Linked DNA regions of Homo sapiens: all the other regions are linked to region 1. The links are contacts of gene promoters, found by promoter capture Hi-C in blood cells and fetal thymus (Javierre and others, 2016). All regions are on one chromosome and are shown on one strand. The core of a region is centred on a gene start or on the middle of the fragment in contact, and the rest is flanking DNA. Distances in the headings are between cores, read along the strand shown. Region 1 holds the start of GPR160 (G protein-coupled receptor 160). Region 2 has its middle 14 kb from the start of RPL22L1. Region 3 overlaps LOC105374211 (a long non-coding RNA gene).

Region 1 (4,591 bases), core at 834-3,333:
AAGCTGCTCCTCAGTCTCCCTAGCAACCCACACTTAATTCTATCAGGGTTCTTCTTGCACCCTTGGGCAATTACTGAGTTCCTTGCAAGGCTAGTCCAGACTCTCAGTGTATAAACCACCCTTGAGGTAACTAATTCCATCTTAGAAAAACCCTCCATTTTATATTTCATGGGCACTTTGCTAACAAGGATAAGATGTTTTGCTTGACGAACAAATTTTAAAAAAGAACACAAACAAGCACACTCATCCACTATAAGTTCTCACCAGAGGACCCTCTGACTGTAAAAGAGCGAAGCCTTCAGCTTGGCTGTCTTCACTAACACCGTCTTGCAGTCACTCATGATAAGAACTCAGAATTTGCCACCGAAAGCTCTGCCACATCAAAGACTCTTCCTTGCAAGACCACCAGGCCCAGACCAGGACTCCCTTTGTCTTCTTCCCTCCCTTTGGACTGGTTCATTAACCCTTTCTCCTCTTCTTCGTCTTGATGTTAAATATTACTTTGTTGTGGAATGTTTAATCTACAACATTCGTATAGTGATTAAGTATACTAGTATGTATGGTTTGCAATATTTACTGACTTATGGAGTGGCTTGAACCTATGTGCTCTGACTACAGAGTGAATGGGAAGGACTAAGGAGAATTGCCTCCTTGGGAACTCCATGTAGCTCCTGGATTTTGTGATTGAAATAGCATTTAAAAAAAAAAAAAGACTGACATTGTGGAGAGATACAAACGTGTATGGACATGGTCATCTTTAATCTCTAACTGCTATGACACTCAGAGAGGTTGAGAGGCTCAGGACACTCCCCTTGTTCAAGGCTCTGCGTGAAGAGGAGAAGGAAGAAATTGTGCAATATTTTATTTTATTTTATTTGTTTCAGATGAAGTCTGTCTCTGTTGCCCAGGCTGGAGTGTAATGGCGTGATCTTGGTTCACTGCAACCTCTGCCTCCTGGGTTCAAGTCATTCTCCTGCCTCAGCCTCCCAAGTAGCTGGGACTACAGGCATGTGCCATTACGCCCAACTAATTTTTGTATTTTTAGTAGAGGCAGGGTTTCACCATGTTGGCCAGGCTGGTCTTGAACTCGTGACCTCAAGTGATCCACCCGCCTCGGCCTCCCAAAGTGCTGGGATTACAGGCTTGAGCCACTGCGCTGGCCTAATTGTTCGATATTTTAAATGTTTAAATGACCGGCAAGTCGTAGGTGCTCAACAAATATTTGTTGAATGACAACAAATTAGCACTGTTGACACAAAAAAGGCAATGCAATATATGGGCTATTTAATATTTGCAGATTTTTATTTAAAAATCTGAATTCACAGTACACTGCAGGCGGTTGCTTAGAAGCATACAAGTTTCAAGAAGTTCTGTCACCCTGTGTATACTCTTTTTTTTTTTTTTTTTTTTTTTTTTTTTTTTTTTTGATACGGAGTCTTGCTGTTGCTGCCCAGGCTGGAGTGCAGTGGTGCGGTCTTAGCTCACTGCAACCTCCGCCTCCTGGGTTCAAGCGATTCTCGTGCCTCAGCTTCCCAAATAGCTGGGATTACAGGTGCGTGCCACCAAGCCCGGCTAATTTTTGTATTTTTAGTAGACATGGGGACCAACGTGGACCATGTTGGCCAGGCTGGTCTCAAACTCCTGACCTCAAGTGATCCGCCCACCTTGACCTCCCAAAGTGCTAGGATTACAGGCATGAGCCACCGCCTGGCCACCCTGTGTAAACTCTTATCTGGAGACAACTGCCAAGTTTACATTTGCAGAGGTAAGGGAAGGAGAGGCCCTGACCCAGTGGCCCCCGCTCGCCCGCCTGCTGGGGAGATGGGGAGCTCCTAGGACAGGGGCCGGGTCCTCAAGATGTGGCATGAGGAAGGGGGTCTCACTGAGCCCCCAAGCGGCTCCCGCACTGCGCACCCCTGGCTGCGTCCCTCTGCCAGCCTCAACTCAGCCCTCTCCTAGCCGGCGGGGGGTGACAGTCTCTGTGATATCTTTCCGTCCCGCCGGCAGGCGGCGCCCTCCGGCCCTTGTTTCGTTGGGCCCGGACGGGACGTGCGCGCTCAAAGGTTGCCCGTCTCTGACGCCCGCATTTCCTGGTCTGGAGCCGGCTGAGCCACAGCAGGGTCGCCGCGGGGTCCCGGGGCCGTGCTCCCCTGCCCCTCCCGGGAGCGCGCGGGGCGGGGCGGGGCGGGGCGGGACCAGGCGGGCGAGCTGGGCCCTCGCCCCTCCCTCGGGCGGTCACCTGGGCACGGGCGCTGCAGGTGTCGGGGCCTCAACCTTGCGGAGCCGACAGCCATCGATCCTCGGGTGAGTGCGGGCGCAGGTGGAGGGCGCCCGGCGCTCTCGCCACCGGCGTCCCAGCCTCGGGGCGGCGAACGGTCCCCGCGCCGCTCCCAGCCTCCCTGGCCGGGCGTTCAGCGCGCCTGGGAGGGGAAGGAATTTCCTTTGCAGGAACTCAGGGGCTGGGGGTTCTCTGCTACTTAAGAGATCCAGGAGTGGAGCCCGGACGCCCGAGCCTTCCTGCTTCGGGATGGGGATTACCGCGGAGCCTTAGCAACTGGGGTCTGTCGTGGGTTTGAGGGCAGGGGGTCTGGGGAATGGGCGTGTCCCGCACCCAGAGACTCGCCACCCTCTCTCCAGGGGAGATGCTTTTTAAACATGACAAACCCAGCAAGGTTATAGAAATGGGTGTATGCAACTCTTCGCTCTTTCCTGGCGCCCAGAGGTGAATAGTCTCACACACACGCGCGCGCGCGCGCGTGCGTGCATTCATTGGGGCCGACTTTGCCTCCCCTCCCCTGGCCTCGAGCGTTGGGGACGGCGCCCCCGCCCGCGCCCGCCACTGGGATTAAGCCCCAGGGCCTTGCCCGGCTATTTGTTTTCCGAGGCCGTTGCGTCCGGGTAGGTTCCTGGATGACCATCCTGGCTGGCTCAAAATTCCCTCTAGATTACCTGCGACCACCCCCAGGAACCCGGAGACTGAAACTCCTTTTCTCACCTGCGCAGGTGGCCTCGAGGTGGTGGCAGGGCCGCCCCCTGCAGTCCGGAGACGAACGCACGGACCGGGCCTCCGGAGGCAGGTTCGGCTGGAAGGAACCGCTCTCGCTTCGTCCTACACTTGCGCAAATGTCTCCGGTAAGGGGAAGTGTCGCTTAAATCCCAGAGATAACCCCCACCGAGAAGCATCACAAAAGACATGAACGAGTGTTTAGCTCTCAGGATTGTTATTGCTTCGAGTGAAATGGTTTCTTGTGTGCTTTTGTGCATTTATATATAAATATAAACATATATGTATACATTTGACAAGCTCTAAGACCGGCACTTGTGATATCTCCAGAATAGAGTTATTATAGTTATTTGGAAATTGTCAGTGAGGATCAGCTTGGTTGCTATGCGAATTGCAGGGAGGAGGACCTGTGTGCAGTTTCAAAACGATTTAAGAGAAATTCGGTGGCAATACAAGGTGTGGACGTTGGTTGGATCCTGATTTGATGAATGTTTTTTAAAATGGAGATGATGCCCGAGTGCGGTGGCTCACACCTGTAATCCCAGCACTTTGGGAGGCCGAGGTGGGTGGATCACCTGAGGTCAGGGGTTCGAGACCAGCCTGGCCAACATGGTGAAACCCTTCTCTACTAAAAATACAAAAATTAGCTGGGTGTGGTGACACGCGCCTGTAATCCCGGCTACTCGGGAAGGCTGAGGTAGGAGAATCGCTTGAACCCGGGAGGCGGAGGTTGCAGTAAGCCGAGATGGCGCCACTGCACTCCAGCCTGGGAGGCAGAGCGAGACTCCGTCTCAAAATAAATAAATAAATAAGGAGACGATGAAGGACATTTCTACTGATTATTTGATGGTATCAAGGAAATTATAATAGTTCTGTTTAGTTACTTTTGGTAACGGTATCCTGATTAAGGTTTTTAAAATCCCTGTAGAGACACAGACTGAAGTTGAAATACAGCTTTGGGATTTGCTTCAGAATTATTCAGTTTTAGATGCTAGCAGAGAAGGGAGGGGAACAAGATGAGAGGAGATTGTTCATGGATTGTTAATAGTTGAAGCTGGGAAGAACACATGGACACAGGCAGGGGAACTTCAGGCACGGGGGCCTGTCGGAGGGTGGGGGGAAAGGGGAGGGAGAGCACTAGGACAAATACCTAATGCATGCAGGGCTTAAAACCTAGATGACGGGTTGATAGGTGCAGCAAAACACCATGGCACATGTATACCTATTAACAAACCTGCACATTCAGCACCTGTATCCCAGAACTTAAAGTAAAACAAAAATAAAAATAGTTGAAGCTGGATGATGGTTATGGAAGTCCTTATGCTATTGTTTCAGTATTTGTGTGTGTTTGGCATTTTCCTTTAAACAGAACACCACCACTTGTGGAGCTTTTTTGCATAAGGTAGGTTTGGCACTGCAGCCGAGTCTAGATGCAAGGTCTTCCGCAGACGCTCGTTCTTTGTAAATTGGGTGTCAAGGCTGCTTCTCCAGACTCGGTCATAAAAAGTTTTTTTCTCCCTACTGGAGGTGCCGATTTATTTTGCTCAGAAGGCAGAGGGTGTTTGCTGAGTGTGACAAAGCTGAGCG
Region 2 (4,591 bases), core at 972-3,471, 820 kb after region 1:
TTTCTGGGCTTGAAGAAAGTTCAAGGCTTCTTCTTTCTCTTGAAGTATACATTTCTGGATTTCTCAAAGATTTATCACAGAGAATCTTTTGCTGCAACATTCGTGACATAAGCAATGCCATTTCTCAGGATCTTCACTCACTACCTGTAGCTCCTGAGCATGTGGTTGTCCCTTATACACAGACTCTTTCTGTTTGGGGTCCCACTTCTCTCCCAAGCAGTCCTCTTAGGTGAACAAGAACTCAACCCAAGCCTGGTCCTTCCCCGTGCACTACATCTGTGGACTACATCTGGTCCAGGGGAAGCACCTGTGCCTCCTTGTAGCTATGGAAATGTACCCCTCATTGCTCTCCCGTAGGCAAACTGCTCCAGCCACTGCCTTTGCCTTAGTTTTTCTCAAGGATGAGTCAAATGCCTAAAAGTCTTCAATTTCTCATGTGTCCTGGAAGTAGGAAATGAACTAAGTCTTAGAAAACTGGAGCTGGAGCACCTCCTTTGTAAGCTCTGCATAGATTTGGAATGTGGGAATATTTGGCACCTTAATTTTGTTCTCAGTTCTTGGAGTCTCAGCTGAAATAGGAGAGAAAAAGTCTCATTGGAAAAGTCTGTTTCATACCTCAATGAAAAGTACAGGGGTGATGAAATAAGGAATCTTCCATGCTGTTTCTTGAAGGCAGTAGGCCGTCTCCTGTGACTGGCCTTCTTACAATAAAACTGTGCGTCAGAGAGCCCTCTGTTAAGCCAGTTTGTGGTTCTCCAGAAGAGGAAAAAAGAAGCTTGGTTCTCTTCAAAAGCTAGATTATTCTTAGGCTTGGTTCTCCTAAGGAGCCAGCTGAATGTGCATCACTGTGAGAAAAGATTGCCTGGCAGGGAGAAATTTAGAAACATTTTTTTACACTAAAGCATTTACAGAGCATGAGCATTGAAGCCAGAGAGATCTGAATTTAAATTCCAATTTGGAACTTATTAGCTGTGTGGCCGTAGACCGACTGTTTAGCACTCTAAGCCCTTGGTTTTCTGATTTGTAAAAGGGGACTAATAACTAGCTTGAAGGGTAGCTGTGGAAATTAAATGAGATGTAGTATGTAAAGATTCCAAAACAGATGCCTTCGATGAGTAGTAGCCACTATCACCATTCCTCCTCAGCCTGGAATTCTCTCCCTCTTCTTCTCTGCCCCATCAATTCCCATTCTTCCTTAAAGAGAAGTCAGGGTAAGCCACCTCCTGCAGAAGGCCTTCTTGGATTCCTTTTCCCACTCATTATGGTATTGGTGCTTCTAAAGCATTTTGTAATATCTCTATTACTGCATGAACCACACTTACCTAAAGTCATTTGTACCCACATTTGCTCCCCTCGTTAGAACTGGGATTTCCTTGAGTGCAGAGAGTATATATAACTCACCCATCATCTCCCATGACTGCGACTGCCAAGGCAGAAATCATTGACCATATATTTGTGACATGTATGGAATCTGTAATTCACACCTCCCCATCTCAGAGAAAGAGGGAGAGAGGAGTTGCAGTGTTCCCTCCCTTGGGAGAAAACATATCTATTCCATCATAATTGAGATAGCAGATCATGATTCCCAGTTTGGCTCATTAACTCATAGGATTTTAGGACAGAAAAAAAAAGCCTTATCATGGGGGAAGTATGTTACTCTCAAGAAGCTTGTGTGTATCATGAGGTCAGGAGACCGAGACCATCCTGGCCAACCTGGTGAAACCCTATCTCTACTAAAATACAAAAAATTAGCCAGGTGTGGTGGTGTGGGCCTGTAATCCCAGCTACTCAGGAGGCTGAGGCAGGAGAATCGCTTGAACCTGGGAGGCGGAAGTTGCAGTGAGCCGAGATTGCGCCACTGCACCCCAGCCTGGCGACACAGCAAGACTCCGTCTCAAAAAAAAAAAAAAAAAAAAAAAAAAAAAGGTATATCCAATATTATGAGTTTATAGTGGGAAAATTATCCCAAAAATCTTACTTTGTTTTGTTTCAGAATAGAAAGCCCCAAAATACCTTGGTTGGTGGGGATATTTATGCATCAGTTATATCACAGGGTGGCAATTGGAACTGGGAACAAGGAACATGAGAAATATCTGTGTTTATCAAAAGGAAGCAGGTGTTACTAAAGCCCGAGAAATGCTGACCTATTTTTAACCACTTCTTTATATACAGAAGGGGAAACTGAGGCCCAGAGGGTGAAGAGATGTGTCCAAGGTCACAAAGCTAGTAGGCAACAGAGAGGCAGGATGTGTGACATGGCCCCGTGTGTGGGAGGAGCACTGGGTGAGGAGTGAGAGGTGGGTGCCATGGTGTGACCATGGGCAAGCCAGTAAACCTGAGACCTGGTTTTTTCATCTGAAAAATGGGAAGATAATATTGTGCCACAGAGGGCTGTTAAGGGATCAAAAGAAAAGAGAAAGCCATTTGTAAATGCAACACATTGTTTAAAACTGGCCTTCCTGGCATTTTAATCATCCAGCTTGTAAAAGAGCACACACTGAAGCTATATATCTAGACTCCAGTCCCTTCAGCATGACCACATACAAGGGTTTCCAGACAGTAAGTAGGAAAACCTATGCTAAGCAAAACTTCCTGGGAACTTTTTCATCAGGGGTAATGGTATAGGTGGGTAGTCACATGGGAAAAAGGTATAATTGGATCCACTTCTCAAATTGTAAACCAGGATAAATTCCAAATAGAATAGAGACCTACATTTTTTTAAGATGAAAATATGTAAGTACTAGCAGAAAACATAAATGAATTCTTGATAACGGGGAAAGCTTTTCTAACCATGGCAATAAGAAAAAAGTTAATTGATTTAATTACATAAAAATAAAAATAATGCTTCTATAGCAACAACTACAACAAAACAAAATGAAAACTAGTAATAAAACAAAAGAAAAATAGCAGCTGGGTATGGTGGCTCACACCTGCAATAATAGCACTTTGGGAGGCTCAGGCAGGAGGATTGTTTGAACTCAGGAATTCAAGACCAGCCTGAGCAATATAGCAAGACCCCATCTCTACCCAAATTTTTTAAAAAATGAGCCAGGTAGTGGTGTGTGCCTGTAGTCTCAGCTACTCAGGAGACTGAGGTGGGAGGATGGCTTGAATCTACGAAGTCAAGGACGCAGTGAGCCATGATCCAGCCTAGGCAACAGAGCAAGGGCTTGTCTCAAAAAAAAGTTAAAAAACAAAAATACCATAAGTAGGGGAAAAAGACAAATGAGAAGCTGAAAAAAGAAATTGTAATTTACATCACACACAAGGAGTTAATAGCCTTAACATAGAGGGAGCTTCTAAAAGTAAAAAATTAAAAATAAAAACAAGAATTCCACAGATATATATTAGAGATATAAACAGGCAGCTCACAGAGAAAGATATGCAAATGACCCTTATTGACATTCAACCTCACTCACAAATACAATGCAAAGGAAAATTACCCTGAAAACCAGGTCTCACCTGTCAGTTAAGCCTCAAATTGGACAAGGTTATCTCTTGGTGTGTCTACAGGAAAACAGATTTCACAGATTGCTGGTGGGAAGGCTAGTGGGAGAGCAAAATGCTACAACCCCTGTAAAGGGAAATTCAGCAATATCTAGAAATTACACATTCATTTATCTTTTGACCTGTAAGTCTCAGGTTTACAACTCCTCTCTAGGGGCTGGGCACGGTGGCTCATACCTGTAATCCCAGCACTTTGGGAGGCCAAGGCGGGTGGATCACAGGTTCAGGAGTTCGAGGCCAGCCTGGCCAATATAGTGAAACCCCTTCTCTACTAAAAATACAAAAATTAGCCGGGTGTGGTGGCAGGAGCTGGTAGTCCCAGCTACCCAGGAGGCTGAGGCAGGAGAATTGCTTGAACCCAGGAGGCAGAGGTTGCAGTGAACTGAGATTGTACCACTGCACTCCAGCCTGGGTAACAGAGCGAGACTCTGTCTCAAAAAAAAAAAAAAGACAGAGAAACTAGACTTTTCTAAATATACTTTGTTTTGTAGATTGGACTTTAGAATCCTGTAAATATTTTACAGAATTATAAAAAACAAAGTGGGCTTAAGCAAACTTTTTAATCAAAAGCAAAATGAAACAAATGACTCTGTGTATCAAGCTTGTTCTACGCCCACACAGAGATGAATCATTTCTAGTGACTTTAAAACACGAAACTTTGTTCATTTCTAGTGGGATATACCATAAGGACAAAAAGAACTGCAAAACAATCTTAAGCTGTAAAGTCATTATATTATAGGTAGTTTTGTTGGTATTATTTTATTGAAACTATTATGTGTATATTGTGAGATAAAGCAAATGAGCATTTGTGTTGGTGTCATTGAGAACTGGAACTTTCAGCATGGGAAAAAAGAGATATGGTCATACAATTGATGAAATAAAAACTCTTTTATCCTGATTTTGAATTGGAAGCATCAGAATAAACATATCATTTCCTCTTAAGAACAAAAATGTATTCCTTCACTCTGTCCACTCAAAAGGCCTAGAAACAAACACCACCCCAGTAATGACAAGCATCTCCAGCACCTAGAAAATAGTCCAGAGCTCCTTGTAGAAATGGATGACTCCTGGCCAGGCACACTGG
Region 3 (4,591 bases), core at 1,367-3,866, 770 kb after region 1:
TAGGTGACAGAGCGAGACACTGTTTCAAAAAAAAAAAAAAAAAAAAAAAGACTTTTAAAATAAATGTTAGTGGGGAGACAAATTATCTTAGTGAGGTGGTGGTGGGATTTGTTATTGTGATGACATTCCCAAACTATAGATCCTAGGAAGAGAACAAAATTAAATCAGAGTGTCTGATATGGTTTGGCTATGGCCCCACCCAGTTCTCATCTTGAGTTGTAATTCCCATAATCCCCACATGTTGTGGGAGCGACCCGGTGGGAGGCAATTGAATCACGGGGGTGATTTCCTCCATGCTGTTCTCATGATAGTGAGGGAGTTCTCATGAGATCTGATGGTTTTACAAATGTCTGGTATTTCCCCTGCTGGCACTCATTCTCTCTCTTGCTGCCCTGTGAAGAGGTGCCTTCCACCATGATTATAAGTTTCCCGAGGGCTCCCCAGCCATGCGGAACTGTGAATCAATTAAACCTCATGTCTTTATAAATTACCCAGTCTTGGGTATTTCTTCATAGCAGTGTGAGAACGAACTAATACAGTGTCTCTGTAGCAAATTAACAAATTGAAAAAGTAAACAAAAACAAAAAAACCTATATTTAATCTAGTGGAGAAGAAAAGAAGCCATGTGCATAAATCACTAGCCCTTTTTCAAGTGCAGTGTCTTGGAGGATCCTAGAGACAGACTTCCTGGGTTCAAACCCTGGTTCTGCTGTGTATCAGTCTTGTGGCCTTGGGCAAGTTATTTAACCTCTCTAGGCCTCAATTTCCATCTACAGATAATGTAAAGTACTAGTATTAATCCATAGGCTTATTTTAAGGGTTAAATAGAATAACATATTCAGGACACACATATATGCCTGGCACATAATAAACATTTGTACATATTAGTTATTATTAAGGTGAATTGGGTTTGAGAGATTGGTTTGTTTAAACAAAGATAATTAAAAGCTACTTGAAGGTAGAATAAAAGAGCTGTATGTTTGTGAGGTATTATGGGCTTAACAAAGTGCCTGGCACCACGTAAAAAGAACAAAGATATTATAACTACCAAGACATAGCCAAAAACTCAGTTGGCTGGAAGAGAGTGCTAAAAAGCTCTGTCCCTTATGAGCACAGCTGCGGGACTGCAAGGGCGTACGGTTGAGAGTGCGCGATAGGTGAGCGAATTATGTCAACCATATAAAACCTACCTGCGCTAATGGTAGGACAACAATATTGTTCTAGTTTGCAAAGATCAGCATATTCTCCAGACAGAGAACACTGCTAAAAAGACAGTAGCATAATGCATCTCTCTGGAATACACACATACAACCCTCTCCTCCACGTCCCAACCAAGGTAATCAAGTTCTTTCATTGTAAAGAGTGCAATGAAAATGCCAGAGGCATCATCAAATTGTGAATCATATAATGCCAAAAGGTACCCAGGGATGACCTCACCTAGCCCCATTTGTGGGAGGAGGAAATGGGGGTGGGTGGAGGTTGCTGACAGAACAGTTGTCCCGAGGCCACACAGCCAGTGATCGGCAGAGCTGGACTAAGAAGGCTTACTGATTCTAACTCTTCGCTGTGCTACACTGTCTCCCATTCCCACACCCATCTCCACCCACCTCAAAATCTTAAACCAGATGGCAAATCCAGCTTCTCCTGGACCCCTAGAAGATACTCCTTCTCTGAGCTGTCACATCCTCGGGGCCTTCTAACGCCTTGTTCACTGCTGCCACCTAGGGAATTTCAGTGAGTTTTCCTCCTTAGGCTGTTGCCTTAGGTGCTCAACAATGGCCATGCACCTCCGTCCTATTCAAGGCCTATCTCCTTAATTAATCATCCAAGTCACTTCATGCTCAGCTCACCAATTAGCAGAGCTATTCACAGTGCAGGCATTCAGATGATACACATCTGACCTTGCTGATGAACACATCTTTTTGTTTGTTCTTTGAAATATTGTTAGGGAACTACTCAAATGCTTTGGGTTTAAAAATATTACTCCAATAATACTGAGTAGTTGCTGAGTTCTAGTTTAATATCTGATTCTTTTCAAGGTGCTGGTGAGAAGGAGCTCATCTACTTCATCCCCAGCATTGCAAGCAGGAGAATATCAGACCTATTTACTCAGGTTCAATGTGTCCAGATCTATTAACTGAAGTTCAGTGTTAGTCATACTTCCACTTTCCCCTGACCACTCCCTCTTTCCTCATTTTATAGCCAGATGCTAGCGTTTAGCAATAAAGTAGCCATTCATTCCCTCAACCTTAATTACTTGATAGTATCCATTGAAACAGAAACACACATGAACTAAATCCCTAGTGATGAAGTCCATTGCTTGACCATAAAAATGATAAAACAGACTCCTGACAAACAATAACAGTCCAGGTTGACTTCCTATGCAATTAAAACCAGACTCCTGGAATTTCCAATTCAAGAACAGAATACATGGAAATAATCAGAGTTGATTATTTTTCTAAGCAGGGAAGGTTAGAAAGCTTCCTGTTTTAGAATGTAAGCACTCTTTTCCAGCTTCATCATTATACCATGCCACATAAAGATATGACTATACCCCTTTTCACTATTCTTTCAGTTTTTAAAGGTCTGATTAGTAGTACTATAGCCCTGAGTATTTCTCCATAGATTCAATTATCTCCCTATGCACAGTATAGCATAGTGGTTTAAATACTCGGGCTTAGGGGCAATTAGACCTAGGTTCCAAACCAGGCTCTACTTGGGTGTGTAATCTTGCAAAAATTTCTTAACATTCCTAAGCTTCAGGTGCCTCATCTATGAAATGGCAGTAAAAATACTAACTTCACGGTAAATTTTCTGTGAGAATTGAAGATATAAAAGTTTGGTGTTGAGCACATTGCTTGGCCTATAGTAAGTAATCAGTAAAAGTTAGCTGGTATTGTAATTATCATCGTCATCATTCATATAACCATTGCCAATGTAAGATCCTCAATTACAAGGAGAAGCCAGAGAAAAGGGAAGGAGATTTCAAGTAGTTCTGGTAGACAGTGGCTTTGTAGCTAGGACTAAAAAATACATTCAATTTTAAGTCAGAATGCCTGAATTTAAATCCCAGATCTATATGAAGGTACTTAGCTTCTCTGGTCCTCGGTTTCCTTATCTGTAAAATGGAGGTGGTAATAGCAACTGGCAGATTGTTGTAAAAATTAAATGAGATAATGACACTGAACGTTTCAAGCCCAACACCTGCCCCAATGGCAGGCAAGCTTTCTTGCTTTTGCCTAATGAATATTTTAGGGCCCTTGCCCATGGTCTAACTTCTGCTTCTGACTGTCACCTCCTGCAGATGAGATGAGGGTGGCAAATCTGGATGCAGGACGCTCTGGGAGAACCTGGCAATCACACTTTCAATCTTTTGATCCGATAATCCCAAATACAAAGAAGAAGGCCCTCAGCAGTTCTCTATTAGGTATAAAAGGGAAGAAAGCCAGTTACAATGGCTGGAAGACCTTAGAGGAAAGGAGGCCCCGGGAACATGGGGACTAACAGCAAATCCTGGTACTGGCCACAAGCCACAAATTTGTGTAGGGGTAGGGAAGAGGATAGGGGATGGCTGGAGCCTGAGACCTGGTGTTTCCTATGATCAGTGCACCTAGCTTGATGACTCATGTTCTTCTAGCTTTTGGCAGCCTAGACTGGTATGTCACTGAAATTTAAAAGCTCCCTGAAATATAGGCAGCATTTTCTCTCCAGCTGTATTTTGAAAAGATGACACAATTTGGATGCAACCTTGTTTTCCAACCTGAAGCAATATTCAGACAGTGTGTTGATGTTTTTAAGTCAGTAGGTGTGTCTGTTTAGTATGTGTGTGCATGCGCGTAAAACGCTCTCCCTCGTGATGCAAAACATGCCCTTTTTCTAATGCCCACGAAAGAAAGTTATCTTAAAGTGAACAATTATTTGTTTGGGATGTCACACTCCAGAACTCTCCACCAGCTAGTCTATTGGGCCCGCTAGCTTCACAGAAGTCAAGGCCAGGTTAATGCATACTATATTATTAGCGAAATAACTAGGTCTTTAACACCTCTCCCTCCAAAAAACAAACACACAAAACAGCTTTAACTTTCATCCCTCTCCAATACCACACTGAATGCCCCACCCTAAGCCATAGCCCTATAACCTCCTCCTCCCCTCTCCTCTTCTGAATGAGAAACCATGAGTGCCCCCTAGTGGTTCAATGGCCGTAATTGCACTCCCCAGCTTTTTGTTTGCCTAATTACTAAGTTTTACCAGCAGGGTTGCAGCCAAGTTCAAGTGTCAAGTTCAAGAACATTTTTGTACTGCCATGTGGTGATTCTGTTGCAGCTAATAAAGAGCTTAAAAGTCTTTGGGTCTGTGAAGCATAATCTCAGCTTTTTCTGTTTGGCGGATCTTCTTAGGTTCTCCTTGGTTCTGCACAGCTGATAATGTGAGAGGGGTTGCTGCTCTCCTCTTGCCGCAACCCCCACCCCAGGCCTTCTCACTCCCAAAACCTACCAAAACGTACCAAGCTGCCTCTTTGAATCTGCTGGCGTGGTAAGGGGAATGGTGTGGCGCATGTGAAAGAGATTGTCCCAAATGGGCAGAACCTTGG

What was found. The method cuts DNA at HindIII sites, captures the fragments that hold promoters and counts their contacts. A CHiCAGO score of 5 or more calls a contact.
Region 2: a contact is called between a fragment that was not itself captured here and the fragment with the promoter of GPR160 in region 1, in 1 of 17 cell types (total B cells). The highest score is 5.1, in total B cells.
Region 3: a fragment that was not itself captured here is called in contact with the fragment with the promoter of GPR160 in region 1 in 2 of 17 cell types (total B cells and fetal thymus); the score reaches 9.6 in total B cells.

Annotation. Positions count from the first base shown.
Region 1 is chr3:170,035,912-170,040,502 of GRCh38, forward strand. GPR160 (G protein-coupled receptor 160) reads left to right here and starts at 2,084. Exons shown (of 4, transcript NM_014373.3): 1 at 2,084-2,304; 2 at 3,004-3,132. RefSeq lists silencers at 2,059-2,538, 2,849-2,898, 3,059-3,108 and an enhancer at 2,964-3,463. The HindIII fragment of the contact is 12,490 bases long and covers 1-4,591 here.
Region 2 is chr3:170,853,605-170,858,195 of GRCh38, forward strand. No RefSeq gene overlaps it. Among named protein-coding and RNA genes, the nearest start is that of RPL22L1, 14 kb to the right of the region's middle. The HindIII fragment of the contact is 1,113 bases long and covers 1,666-2,778 here.
Region 3 is chr3:170,807,969-170,812,559 of GRCh38, forward strand. The region is part of intron 2 of LOC105374211 (a long non-coding RNA gene); the gene reads left to right. Among named protein-coding and RNA genes, the nearest start is that of RPL22L1, 60 kb to the right of the region's middle. The HindIII fragment of the contact is 277 bases long and covers 2,479-2,755 here.